2 separate regions of the Homo sapiens genome follow, and region 1 is linked to region 2. Evidence: promoter capture Hi-C in 16 types of primary human blood cells and fetal thymus (Javierre and others, 2016). All regions are on one chromosome and are shown on one strand. Each heading gives the region's core, a stretch centred on a gene start or on the middle of the fragment in contact. The rest is flanking DNA. Distances are from core to core; before and after follow the strand shown. Region 1 has its middle 4.4 kb from the start of KIZ. Region 2 holds the start of ZNF133 (zinc finger protein 133).

What was found. The method cuts DNA at HindIII sites, captures the fragments that hold promoters and counts their contacts. A CHiCAGO score of 5 or more calls a contact.
Region 1: a contact is called between a fragment that was not itself captured here and the fragment with the promoter of ZNF133 in region 2, in 1 of 17 cell types (fetal thymus). The highest score is 7.8, in fetal thymus.

The regions. Positions count from the first base shown.
Region 1 is chr20:21,118,006-21,125,257 of GRCh38, reverse strand. No RefSeq gene overlaps it. Among named protein-coding and RNA genes, the nearest start is that of KIZ, 4.4 kb to the left of the region's middle. RefSeq lists an enhancer at 6,373-7,252. The HindIII fragment of the contact is 2,396 bases long and covers 81-2,476 here.
Region 2 is chr20:18,285,882-18,293,438 of GRCh38, reverse strand. ZNF133 (zinc finger protein 133) reads right to left here and starts at 4,912. Exons shown (of 7, transcript NM_001352452.2): 1 at 4,835-4,912. RefSeq lists enhancers at 4,180-4,299, 4,860-5,199, 4,305-5,210, 5,290-5,339. The HindIII fragment of the contact is 851 bases long and covers 4,459-5,309 here.

The sequences.
Region 1 (7,252 bases), core at 29-2,528, 2.8 Mb before region 2:
TATGTGTTAGTGTTTATAAGTGGGCCCAGCACATAGAAAGCATCAGGTTTTATTATCATCACCAACGTCGGGAAAAAGCTTCCTGAAGGAAGCCAACCATATTTCAAAACCCACTGGGCAGAAAAATTAAGCCTTAGCCTGCTTCTCTGCCTTCCTTTCCTTTTTTTTTTTTTTTTTTTTGAGACAGAGTCTCACTCTGTTGCCCAGGCTGGAGTGCAGTGGCGTGATCTCGGCTCACTGCAAGCTCTGCCTCCCGGGTTCAAAAGATTCTCGTGCCTCAGCCTCCTGAATAACTGGGATTACAGGTGTGCGCTACCACACCCAGATAATTTTTGTTTTTTTTGGTATTTTTTATATTTTAAGGAGAGACGGGGTTTCACCATGTTGGCCAGGCTGGTCTTGAACTCCCAACCTCAGGTGATCCACCCACCTTGGCCTCCCAAAGTGTTAGGATTACTTGCATGAGCCACCATGCCCGGCCTGTAGAGTTTCTTTAGTCTCTTATTGTTCACTTCTTTTGGTTTCTTTCCTATGCCATTAATTTTACTTACACATACAAGGTGCAAGGTGTGACAAACTAAAATTGTAAGAGAGATGGAACACTCAAAGGCCAACAACACAAAACTATGATTTTACTCAGCCTTCCATTCACATTTGCCAGTTCCAGGGCAAGAGTGTGAATGGAGGCCCTCATACCATCCGCCTAAATATTGAATTATAATTCAAGATAACAAACTTAGGTAAAATACGTGTTCTCCTCTCCACTTTGACCAATATGCCTTCTTAAGAACCTGGACAACCAGGGTGGAATTTAGTTTGCCTGCTTCTCCAGCTCCCCCCAACTCCATTTCCCACCCCAGGCTCAGTCTTGCTTTGTGAGGGGGTCTCATACACTAGCAGGGATGTGTGTGCCCTGCCTCTTCTCCTCCTCTTCTCCAGCCAGCAAGTCCCAACTCTGCCTACATCCCCACCTCAGCCTCCTCTTGGCCGGGCAGTGAGCATGCCAGTGATGGTCACCCTTGCAGGAAAGACCCAGCCAAGAGGCCTTTTAAAGCCTTAGAAAGCAGCTTGGGCCCCTTTGAGCAGGGAAGGTAAGGGTGTTGGGTACTTAGAACGTGTTCTAGAAGAGCATGTGTGTGTATGTGTGTGAGCACCCCAGGTGGGCCTGTCATCTGGCCCTGGGACCTCCTTGCCTTGCGTGGAGCAGCATGGGCAGAGAAGGGCTAGAACAGAACCTCTAATACACAGAAGCCAGGGCAGAGGCCTTCTTGCCCTGGTCCAAGGGTAGCACTGATGTGACTTTTATTTAGTTTTTATTCAGATTATATCCAATTGATTCAGTGGTAATGTGCAAAGGTTTATTTTAATGAGTTTAGTGTAACTAACATTTTACTACAACCCTGGCAAAGAAAAGAAAAGCATTAAATTTTTAGGATATTTTATTTAGGACCATGCCCCCAGGGTTAGTTTTTTTTTTTAAGAAAAAGAATCCCCAAACAATTAATATAACTAATTTTAGCAAGTAGCACAGAGTAAGCAGATGAGGCAGTCATTTAGCACCCAAAATTTTTATTAGGCCATTTTAGGAGAATCTAAAATTAAATGTAATTAAACAGTAAATAGATAATTCAAAATAATTATAATTTACATCCTATGGTTGATTCATTAATGACGTATGACAAATCTAGATGTAGGATCTCCTTTATTAACAATAACACATAGCAAACAAAAGGAATATTTCTAGAGTATTTATGCTAAAATTATGCATTTTAAATGGTGACAGGCTTTCAATAAATTCTGAGTTCTTCACTTTGAATATTTAATTTGCCAGAGCCCTCTATTTTAATATTTTTCTTCAAACTCTTTATTTAGCTGAGCTGATTTCTGTAAGCAGCCCTGCTTTTAGCTCACTGGACCAAGGGTCATCAAGTCTGCCTAGATCAAGGCTTCCTCTAAGTCCTAGAATGTCTTAGCTAGAACTTAGAGGGAGTCTAGCCCCACCCCCTTGTTTTACAGGGGAAAAAGGGTTCAGGGCAGATAAGGGGCTTGGCCAAAGTCACCTAGCTGGAAATCTATGTAATATTAACGAGTCTAGTTCAAAATATGGATCCCTAGTGGTCCCATTAAGCAAACAGCAAGGGAAGCCAGTGTCTCGGCCCAGAAGTCACATGAATCTTTGGGTGAACCAAATGAAATTGTTGTTTTTGTAGCTCAAAAACAAAATTGATTCTGGAAAATATATTGAAATTAGAATTGTACATATATTCTAATATTGGGAAATTCTAATTTCAACATATTTCCATATATATGTATATATACATTACATTTACCAGTTTATTATAAGAATATCACAAAAGATACAGATGAAAAGATTCATAAGGTGAGGTCTGGGGGAAGGGGTGTAGAGGTTCCATGCCCTCCACGGGCACACCACCCTCCAGGAACCTCCTCCACATGTTCAGCCAGCTCAGAAGCTTCCTGAACCCTGTCCCCTTGGGTCTTTTATGGGGACTTTATTGGATAGGCATGATCGACAGTCGTGTAGAAGCGTGATTGGACAAAGGGGACATGATCTAACACTAATTGAGTGGGAAACCCAACAAGTCCTGTTCTGATTCATCTCGGCCTCTCAATGCAGCAGAAATTTTTTTTTTTTTTGAGACGGAATTTCACTCTTGTTGCCCAGGCTGGAGTGCAATAGCATGATCTCAGCTCACCGCAACCACTGCCTCCCTGGTTCAAGCGATTCTACTGCCTCAGCCTCCTGAGTAGCTGGGATTACAGGCATATGCCACCACGCCTGGCTAATTTTGTATTTTTAGTAGAGACAGGGTTTCTCCATGTTGGTCAGGCTGGTCTCGAACTCCCAACCTCAGGTGATCCACCTGCCTTGGCCTCCCAAAGTGCTGGAATTACAGGCGTGAGCCACTGTGTCTGGCCTGCAGTAGCATTTTATATTTTAAAATGTACACACTATGCTGCTTTTAATTAAATCATGTATATTTAGTCAATAACTGCTTGGATATTATATTAATTTGCTAGGGCTGCTGTAAGAAAGCTCCACAAACTAGGTGTCTTAAACAACATGATTTATTGTGTTTCAGGTCTGGAGGCTAGAAATTGAAGATCAAGATATCTGCATGGCTCGTTCTTTCTGAGGGCTGTGGGGAAGAATCTGCCGCATGCCTCTCTCCTGGCTGCTGGTGGTTTGCAGGCTATCTTTGGTGTTCCTTGGCTTCTAGACACATCATCTTGACCTCTGCTTTCATGTTCACATGGTGTTCTACCTGTGTATGTGTCTCCAAATTCTGCCTTTTTATGAAGGCACCAATCATATTGGATTAGACGCCCACCCTTCCCCAGTATGATCTCATCTTAACTAATTACATCTGCATTGACCCTGTTTCCAAAGAAGACTGCATTTTGAGGTACTGAGAGTTAGAACGTCAACATATGTATTGTGCAGGGGACACATTTCAATCCATGATAGATATGAAAGTAGGACAAGATTTCATTTTGCAGTCATTATGCAGACATATCCAATCTGGTAGCCATTAGCCATGGCTATTGGGCAATTGAATATGGCTAGTGCAACTGAGAAATTGAATTTTTAATTTAATTTTTATTTATTTATTTATTTTGAGATGGAGTCTCACTCTGTTGCCAAGGCTGGAGTGCAGTTGTGCAATCTCAGCTCACTGCAACCTCTGCCTCCTGGGTTCAAGCAATTCTCCTGCCTCAGCACCCTCTAACAACTGGGATTACAGGCACACACTACCACACCTGGCTAATTTTTGTATTTTTAGTAGAGACAGGGTTTTGCCATGTTGACCAGGCTGGTCTCGAACTCCTGACCTTAGGTGATCCACCCTCCTCAGCCTCCCAAAGTCCTGGGATTACAGGTGTGAGCCACTGGGCCCAGCCAAATTTAATTTTATTTTAATAATTAAAATTAAAATTTAAGAGGCTACATGTAGCTAGTAGCCACTTTGTTGAACCATGCAGATCTAAAGATGAAGTAGAAAGATGGATAAACATGGAACAGGGAGAGGGAGGACATAAATCACTGGGAAGTGGAAAGATAAGAATAGAAGGTAAGATGCCATCCTTGCTGGGAGGTTGATATGGTTTTGTTCTGTGTCCCCACCCAAATCTTGAATTGTAATACCCCTGTGTCGAGGAAAGGACCTGGTGGGAGGTAATTGCTGTTCTTGTGGTAGTGAGGAAGTTCTTATGAGACCTGGTTGTTTGGTAAGTGTCTGCCAGTTTCCACTGAGAGCTTGCTCTCTCTCTGTCTCTCTCTCTCTGTCTCTCTCTCTCGCCTGCTGCCATGTAAGACATGCCTTGCTTCCCCTTCCGCTATGATTGCAAGTTTCCTGAGGCTTCCCCAGCCATGCAGCAATTAAACATCTTTTGTTTATAAATTACCCAGTCTCAGGTAGTATCTTTATAACAGTGTGAAATGGACTAATATAGAGGTGATGGTCATCAAGAGGAGAGGTGTGATTGTGAATTTATTTTATGTGTCAACTTGGCTAGGCCATGGTGGTCAGTTGCTTTATCAAACACCAGTCTAGACATGACTGTGAAGACTTTTTTTTTAGATGTTGTTAATATTTGAAGCAGTAGGCTTTGAGGAAAGTAGACTGCTCTCCAAAATGTGGATGGGCCTCATCCAGTCAGTTGAAGGCCTTAGGAGAAAAGAATGAAGTCCCTCACAATCTCATGAACCACTTCCTAAAAATAAATCTCTCTCTCTCCATATAAATATATATATATATAAATATATATATATAAATATATATATATATAAATATATATATATAAATATATATATATATAAATATATATATATATAAATATATATATATAAATATATATATATAAATATATATATATATAAATATATATATATAAATATATATATATAAATATATATATATATAAATATATATATATATATACATACACACATATATATACACACACGTGTGTGTGTGTGCGTGTGTGTGTGTCCTACTGGTTCTGTTTCTCTGAAGAACCCTGATGAATACAGGAAGACATGAGGTTACTAACAGCACTTTGCTCAAAGGCATTTGTTTTTTAAATTAAATTAATTTGATTTTAAGACAAAGTCTCAGTCTGTCACCAGGCTGGAGTGCAGTGGCATGATCATGGCTCACTGCAGCCTTGAATTCCTGGGCTCAAGTGATCCTCCTGCCTCAGTCTCCCAAGTAGCTGGGACAACAGGCACATGCCACCATGCCTGGCTAACAAAGACATTTGTAATAGCTAATTTAAAATAATAAGAATTGGGTGCAGATTCCAATAAATAAAATAAAAACATAGATTTCCTCATTTTATTTCATATCATATAAACCAACCATTAATATGTGGGTCCTGGCTGGGCGCGGTGGCTCACCCCTGTAATCCTAGCACTTTGGGAGGTGGAGGCTGGAGGATTACCTGAGCTCAGGATTTAAGACCAGCCTGGACAACATGGTGAAACGCTGTCTGTACGAAAAATACAAAAAATGAACTGGGCGTGGTGGCACATGCCTGTAAGCCCAGCTACTCAGGAGGCTGAGGCAAGAGAATCGCTTGAACCCAGGAGGTGAAGTTTCATGCTGAGATGACGCCACTGCACTCCAGCCTGAGTGACAGAGTAAGACCCTGTCTAAAAAAAAAAAAAAAAAAAAAAAAAAAAAGTGAGTCTCTAAAATACTTGAGTTCTAGAAAAGCTAAATAACAGCCAAAAAATGGAATAATAGAGTAGTTAACTGCCTCTAGCTAGAGACTCACTACTTAAACGAGATGGGCTCACTCTGTCTCACAGCTCTTATATGCCTATGATTTCCACTGAAGTCCTTGAATTGGGCTTCCATGAGGTCTCCAGGATTATCCCTTTGTAGACAAAGAGGAATCCTCAGAGGAGAGAGACTTGAAACACCAAATCTTTGCACTCTTTTCTCCCTGCAGGACTGGCCTGTGGCGTGGTGTACCAGGCAGGAGCAGCTCTGCAGCCCTGCAGCCCTGGGTGCATGAGTGACAGGCTGTGCTGATGTCACATGTGAACAATCTTTGAATGCCAAGATTCTCCTCAAAAATCATTTGGTGAATTTCTTAATTGTTTGCCACTTGGATGCACTTCTCATCAGGGTTCAACAAGTACTCCTAACTACAAGGGTTGGAAACAAAGGGACGCTCTAGGACTGTTCTTACAATTCGCAGGCAGGTTAAAACCAAAGGGTTTGCATAATAAGTACCATTTATTTGATGACTATGTATTTATGTTTACAAGGTGACAGGGCACCTCATGTAGAATGTTCCACTTCTCATTGCCTGCAATTATTCACAGTCTTTGTAAAAATGTTGGCTTCATTCATTGCTGGGGCACACCTCAATGATGACTGCTACACAAAATAACCTCCCTTCACTTAATCATCAAACATTTGCCATTGTGTCCTCAAGAAGCAGTCAGATACAAGAGTTGGGAATTTGGGCTCAGGTGCCTCCTCTGCATAGTATACTATCACTTCTCTTACAACCTGTGTGACCCTGGGCAGATTACTTACCCTTGATGTGCCTCCAATTCCTCATCTGTGAAATGGTGATCGTAAGAGTGCCTTCCTCTCAGGGTCATTGAGAGCCTTAAATGTGGTGATCTGTGTGATGCACTTGGAATCATGCCTGGTAGAATTATCCCTCAACCAACACAAGCTAGCATTGCTTCTTAGGAAGACAAGAAAAATATCCCTTTGGGAGGTGAAGCAAGTCGTCAGAGGTAATGGCCCAAATTCTGCATTTTATGACTTATCTCTGTCTCTCAGAGGCATTTCCTGAGCTTCCTCTCTGTCCTTTTCATCAATTCTACTGGTTCTGCAGTCACCTGCCCACGCAGGGTCAGGTTCTGGTCACCTGAATTCATCACTGATGACTCAGTAGGTGACATTAAGTTGGGAACCTCAACCTGGGATTCCGTTTTACTCCTTTTGTGTCAACCCTGGCAGTTGAGGAGATCTCAGCCCATCAGCCTCAGGGGTAGAAGTCAATGACACGCAGGCAGCACCATGTTGTCTAAAGATCATGTGCTTCAGAATCAGTAGACTTGAGTTCCAGTCCCAGCTCCGCCTCTTAGTGACTGTGTGGCTCTGAGCACATCTCAACATTTTGAATGTCTCATTTTCCTCATTTCTAAAATGAGGGCAATAACATTTTTATTTATCAAGTAATTGCAAGGAGTAAATGAAAT
Region 2 (7,557 bases), core at 3,663-6,162:
GAGTTCAATCCTGCTGGAAGCCCTTACACTACCTGGAGAGAGTGAGGCCTGCTGTCCCAGCTGACCCCAGCCTTCCAGCCAACCCACGAAAATATGTGATGGAACCCACGAAAATATGTCAAATGTGTGACGGAACCATCTTGCATGTTCCAACCCAAATGAGTCCCCAAATGACTGCAGCCATAGCAAGATGCATCACTCACATCTCAGCTGATCACATCCGCTTTGGGTAAACCCAAAGAACTGTGGGAGATTAAAACATAGTTGCTCTCCTAAGCCACTCAGTTTTAGAGTGGTTTGTTGTGTAGCAGTCAATAACCAGAACCCTTGCTGGTTATTGACATACTGCGCCCTCTCTCTTTCAGCTTACCTGATAACAGAAGCATCTTCCTGTCATCCATGGCACTTACTCAGTCCCATGACTACTTCTCTCTACCTTCCATATCAAACCAATTATCAAGGCAAATGGATTCCACCTCTGCCAACTCTCTCAATTCCTCCCCACCCCTACACCAGTTGGAGCACCAGGACAATGGCAAAAGCCTCCTGCCAGTCTCTGTAGACCATTTCCCAACATCCTAGTCTGCCTCATCCATTACTCCTATGGATTATGCCTTCATTTGGCAAGTATTTATTATGCTCCTACTGTGTGATAGGCACTATTTTAAACCCTGGGGATACAGAAGTGAACAAAGACAAAAATCTACCCTCACTGACATGAAAGTCTAGAGGAGAAAGATGGGCCAATTACATGAATAAATAAAATACACACTGTATCAGAAAGTGATGAGTGGCATGAAGAGAAATAAAGCAGGGAAGGAGAAAGGATAGTCACAGAAGTGGGGTGAGGTTTTAGAATTTTAGATAGGGTGATTTGGGAAGGCATCTCTGAGGTGACTGAGTAAAAATCTCAAGGATGTGAAGAGCCCAGGGAATAACTTTGAAAAGAACATCTAGGGCAAGAGAACAGTCAGTGCAAAGGCCCTGATGCAAGGAAGAATCAGGCTGGCATGGCCAAGGGACGGACAGTTCACTGTGGCTGGTGTGGAGTGACTGAGATAGTGTGGTACAGATGAAGGCCAAGAGTAAATGTAGGGACATCAGACCTAGCTTTGTAGGATACTGGTTTTGACTTTGGTTAGGATGAGAAGCCACTGGAAGATTTTGAGCAAACACATGACATGATTCGATTTACATTTAAAATCTCCTTCTATTTGCTCCACTGATTCATGTACCTTAGCGGGACATAGGCAGAAACAAAGAGATCACTGAAAGGCTATGATCGTCCAGATGAGACGGTGGCCTGGACCATGGTGGAAACAGCAGGGCATGGAAACTGTCGGAGTCCAGATTTCCGTAGTGTGGATGAGGGTATAAGAGCAAGACAGGATCAAGGATGACTCCTTGATGACTCCAAGCAATCTGAAGGAAAGAGCTGAAATGCTTCTGCTCCAAGATAAACTCTTGAAAGGATGGTCTATATACCACTGGGGTGGAACATGTTCAGGGAAGGTAATCAGAGTTTCTTGTTGCACACATTAGTTTTGGGATGCCCATAAGATATCCAAGTGGGGTGGCACACACCTGTAGACCAGATACTCAGGAGGCTGAGGCATGAGAATCACTTGAAGATGGGCAGTGGAGGTTGCAGTAAGCCGAGATTGTGCCACTGCACTCCAGCCTGGGCGATAGAGCGAGACTCCTGTCTCACTAAAAAAAAAAAAAAAAATCCAACTGGAAATGTGAAGAAGGAGACAGTAGGGGACCAGGATGTGAGTTGCACACAGAGCTCTAGGCTGAGCCTCAGACAGATGGCATTTAAAGCCTTGAGAATGAACGGGAGAACCAAGGAGACAGTATAGCTGAAGAAGACAGGAGGTCTAAGAACTGAAGCAGGGCCTTTTCCACGGTGGAAATTTGGGAGGGAAGGAAGAGCCAGTAAAGGAGACAGAGGAGGAGCAGGCTATGAGTTAGGAGGAAAACCAGGAAGACCTAGTACCAAGAGCAACTGTGTGAAAGGATATATTAAGAAGGAGGATGTAAACAATTACATCAAATGTTGCTGAGAACTGATTGTGGCCTTTAGTCAAGGAGACCATTGGTAACCCTGACAAGAATATTTTTTGGTGTCACTTGAAAAAGCCTTACTAAAATATTCGAAACATAACAGAAGGATAGCAACGCAGACAACAAACATAGATAATTCTTTCAAGGAGTTCAGCTCTAAATGGGAGGAAAGACAAGGCAAGAAGGTGAAGAAGAGACAGGAAGCTAGGGCAGTGCAGAAATGGAGACAAAGGGAAAGAAAAGGAATCGAGAAGAATGCACAGGTGGAATAGGAGGATACAACTTTTGTTTTGTTTTGAGGTGGAGTCTTGCTCTGTTGCCCAGGCGACAGATTCTCCTGCCTCAGCCTCCTGAATAGCTGGGATTATTGGTGTGTGCCACCACGCCTGGCTAATTTTTGTATTTTTAGTAGAGATGGGGTTTCACCATGTTGGCCAGGCTGGTCTCGAACTCCTGACCTCAGGTGATCTGCCCGCTCTGGCCCCCCAAAGTGCTGATTACAGGTGTGAGCCACTGTGCCCGGCCAGGAGGACACAACTTCTAATGGGAAGTAAGTTTGGAAACAAGGATGCAAGGAAAACTCAGAGGTCCAGCTTATATCAAGTTATAAGGCTGTCAACACAGATCAGCAAGATCAGAAGAAATAGGAGGAGAAATGAGGCAGAGATAGGGAAAACTGGGATGCTGTTTCCAGATACTTTTCCCTCTCCTGCCTCTGACCAGGGCTGTTCTGACTGGTGGAAAAAAAAGATTTTTTTTTTAACAATGGGGGAAAACAATATGGGCTAGATATTAAATGATATTAATAAGTTATTAATTTTGTTGGGTATAACAAAATATAATTGTAACAATGTAACTGTATAACAATGAAATTGTGGTTATGTTAAAAAAAGAAGTCCTTATGTGTTAGAGATGCCTCCTGAAGTGTTCCCAGGTGAAATGATATAACTGGGATTTGCTGCCAAAACTCTAGCAGGGAAAAGAGTAAGTGAGAGTATTGGAAGACAGAAGAACAGAATGTTAACAACTTCACAGGACCTGACAAGCCCTGGGAATGAGCAGTCTGAACAAATACTGAAAGAAGGAATGTAGGGGAAGAATATAGGTGTAATGAATGAGAGCATCAGCTCTGAAAAATATTCCCTGTGAAAATGATCACTCTTAAAACAAGCCTAGTTTCCTGAAGGAACCAGCTGGGGCCCTGATCCCTGGATGGGACATTGTAGAACACAGACGTCAAAGCTGAGCAAAAGAAACCCACTCATGGTTCGAAATGCAAAAGGTAAGTGGCACCCACCTGAAGCTGGGCTGTCAGGAGCTCAGGAGTACCCCCTTTCCCCAGCAGGCAGTCCTCTCTGGGCAGACAGGAGCCACAGGGAGGCAGAACAAGAACAAAAAGCGTTCAAGAAAATCAAGGGAAATCCTCTCCAGCAGGGCAGTACCTCCTATTCCTTAACAGCATCAGGAATGAACCTGCCACAGAAGAAAAGGAGAAAAGAACTGCGGGCAGCTTCCTGGGAACACAGCTGGGGTACAGGTTGAAAGCACGACCTGCCCTGATATGCTGTTGACGCTGAGCATGAAGCGACCTTCTCTGTGCCTGTTATTAATGAAAGGTAATATTCACTGAACACTTAGTATACACCAGAGACTGTTACAGCCACTGTAGGAGTTTCACCTCATTCTATCCTTTCAACAACCCAATACGATAGATGCTATTATCCTCTTTAGGATAAAATCGAGGAAACTGAGGTACAGTGAAGTCAGCATCTTGCCCAAGGTGACACAGCTATAAAGTGACAGAGCCTAGAGGAAATGTGGCTGTGGAGACCGTGCTCTTACACAGTAAGGGCAGTGACGGTGAACTCTGGATTGCAAGGATTCTCTGTGTCCATTCTGAGATGAATCAAGATTGGTCATAAGGTTTTAAGTGTTGAATCTGGGTGATGGAGATCTGGTCTATAGAGTTCTATCTACTTCTGGCTGTTTGAAATTTCTCCGCAATAAAAACTTAAATGGAATGTAAAATCCCAAAGCCTGGCCACACCAGGGGCCTGGGAATCCGTAATTCTTGCGATCAATGACGGTCCCTGGGACCTTTGGAAAAAACCTGTCCTGTGCGTCCCAGCCAGACTTCCTCCTCCAACGCCCGAACCCGGGGGTGACCAACCAAAGTGAAACCCTAAGATCGCGGCAAAATGGCCACCCCAGATCCAGTCTAACCTTGGCTTGTTTGGTCAAGCCAGACCGCTCCTCATTCCACTCCAGCAAAGCCGAAGAATAGTGTGGCCCCAAGAGACTAGCCCTCAACCGACCAATGCCTCGGGGACACATGGCCCCAGGGATGGTTCCCATTCCACCACCTGGGAAATACCATTCCCCCAAAAAGCTTATTTATTCAACTCCCCCAAAACCGGGGACTTATGGCATCAGCGACTCCCTTTCCCAATACCCGACTTCAGCCAAAGCCGAACCTGTCCCCACCCACAAGAACCCTAGGAGAGAGAGCCCGATCCCCCACTCATCACCATCCAGTTTCACGGATGGGCTTCACCCAACTCCCCTGGAGATGCACGCCCACACCCCCAAAATAAGACATCTGGGAGAGGACGGCCTGCGCCACGCCAGCGCGTTCCCACCACAATCACCACCCCCGCGCCACCCGCACGGTCCCCAAATTCAGCCCATAGTCCAGCCTTTCGGGACCTTCCTTTTCGCGCAGAAAAGGGTACGGCTGCGGCAAGGGTCCCGCGGGAGCCTCACTCACCAGCGCCACCAAAGAACAAGGGGTCGCTCCAGCCACCAGCTGGGGAGCTCCTCCAGCGGGGCGCCAGGACTACACTACCCCGAATCCTCGGCACAGCGCCCGGACCACACCTCCCAGGATGCTCGGCGCCACCAGGCGCGCCCTGAAGGCCGGCAGCTCCCATTGGCCTCTGACGGATCCGTTTCTGAGTAACACGCTCCGGTCACCGGAGAATGGCCACTGTGGCACCTGAATTCTCCCTCTTTTTTCTTAACCACGTGCATAAAACACGTAGGAGCTCCCGAGAAGAGTGCCTGGCCCTACTGTGACCCTCCTTCTGAGCGCCTCTGTCTCGAAAACTACACTTCCCAGTGACCCCTGGAGCGACTTCCGCACCCGGTACCGGCCCCGCCCCTTGGCGCGCGGAAATGACGTTTCGGGGCGCATCTGTTCGGCTTCTGGGGTTGGCGGAGGTGTACCGCTGGCTGACCAAGCTTGTTCAGGTGCTGGTTTGTGTTGCAGCGGCCTGTGGTCTCCCTGGCTCCAGCCGCCTGCTTGGAAAGTCACGCCCCATATTCCTAAACACCGGGCGAACGTCATGTCGTATACCCTTTAGCTCCATTTAAAGCCTTGAAAAGGCCGAGCAGTCTGCCTGAAGTCTCACATCCCGTACGAGGTAGACCCGATTCTGAGCCCACGCCCTCAACCCGAATACACCTTTTCCGGTGCCCTGAGACCTTTTTCTTCTTTTTGAAATCCACGAAGTTATTGTTAAACTCTCATCTCCTGAGAAGCAGAAGCCTCAGTCTCGGGCCAGAGCTTGGCCTGCCGTCGGCTTGGATCTCTAGGTCTTTGTCCGGGATCCTGGTTGAGAACAAGATTGCGCTGGTGCCATCTGGGACGCCCCATCTGGGGAGCTCGAGGGGAAGGCCCACGTCACTCTTGAGAGGGCTTTTCCACCCGTGCACCCTCTCACTGCCCTTCACCTTCCTCAGATAGGCTTTCTGAAACTTTGTCATTCTCTTGGAAGACCAAGAAAATGACCACTGTCTGAAGGGCCAGGGAGATGAGAATTTCCTAAAATTCTTTTGTAGCTCTCAGAGGGTGAATCCATTCCCTTCTGGTACCCCGAGGCTACATTATTTATTGTGAATTCAGTTCAGTCCTGGCTCCGGAGACATGTCCAGTGTCAATTGGATTCATCCCTCAACATCATTCTCTGCCTCATGAGTCAGTCATCACCAAGAAATTAGTTGTTAATACACATAAAGGTTCAGAACAACAATGCAGGGATGCCTGTGTTCAAGTGTTCACTTGTGCTGGCTGTACAATAAAGACACAGATGGCTGACATCTCTTAAGCCTGGAAATGAAGACTTACAGGATGAGGTGCTGCCTGAGGAATTAGGCAAGATGAGGAGTTGGAAGAACACAGACGAGTAAGGAAGAGTGTAGGAAGTGTGAACAGAATCTCAGGGTCTGAGCCACTGGGTGGACTGTCATGACCACAGTGAGATTTTCAGCAGCACGTGGTCTTGCAGCCAGCTGACTTGCATATAGACAGGGATGCTAGATGTCCACCGTCTAGATGTACAGCTCTGTCATACAGATATTTGGTGTGTCCAGCCTCCAGTTTCATCTTTGACAGACCTCAGCATTTAATAATTAGGAGTTTCCATCTAGAAATCTGGATTGCCTGCTTTCTAAAACACTCTTTGCTGCCATGTCCTCTTTTTCTCCTGGCATTTCCCACCCACTCCATGCCATACCTCATCTGGAATACCCTTAGCTCCTCTGAATCCATCTGGTCCTTCAAGACCAAATACCTAGCTCTCTTTCGTGAAACCTTCCCTGATCACTATACTATAGTGACTACTTGAGACTCTTCTAACCCTGGCTGTACTTGGAAGCTTTTAAAAATACAATGCCTGAACACCACCCCAAGAAATGAGTTTGCAGTGGAGCCTGGGCATCCATTATTCATAACAGAGCTGTTTTCCTCTTGAGAAGGGAAGATGTTGTGTAATAATGTAGAAGAGAGATCTTGTTTTGGAAAATCAGAAGTTTAGTTATTGGTTGTTGCTATTTCTGAACCATATACCTCGGTAGATCATTTAACCCAGCGCTCTCAAAAACATGCATACATGTCACTTGGGATCTTGTAAGCAGCAAATTCTGAATCAGAATGCCTGATGGAGCCCAAGCATCAGCATTTCTAATAAGCTTCCAGATGATGCTGGTACTGCTTGTCTTCAGACCAGACTGGGTAACAAGGCTTTAAACCAATCAGGGGCTCAGATCTTTAAATTGAATATAAGCAGCTAGATTAAAGAATCTCCAAATTCCTAAATCTCAGAAAGACCATGATTCTATACTTATATTTTCTTTTAATATGTTATCTATTAAATGTAAAACACCTCAAGGTTAGGAATTGTGTTTTCATTTGTAAAGCCCATAATAGCCAGACTAGGATCACAGCAAGTGATGCTGGTTGGATAGTGAATAGGGTTAATGGTCTTGGAATCCAAGCTCCAGAGTTACAGTCAAAAGCAGGACCTAGATATTTTACCTATCTTCCCCAAGGCAGCCCTCTTGCTCCCTTGTTTTCAACATGGGCACACATGTCAACAGAGTGAGCGGAGCTGTGTTTGGCATAATGGTTTTTCATAATATTCAAGGTTGTGGCTGTGGATTTCATCTAAGAGGTATGAAGCCTGTGGAGTCCTGCTCAGAAGGACCTATACT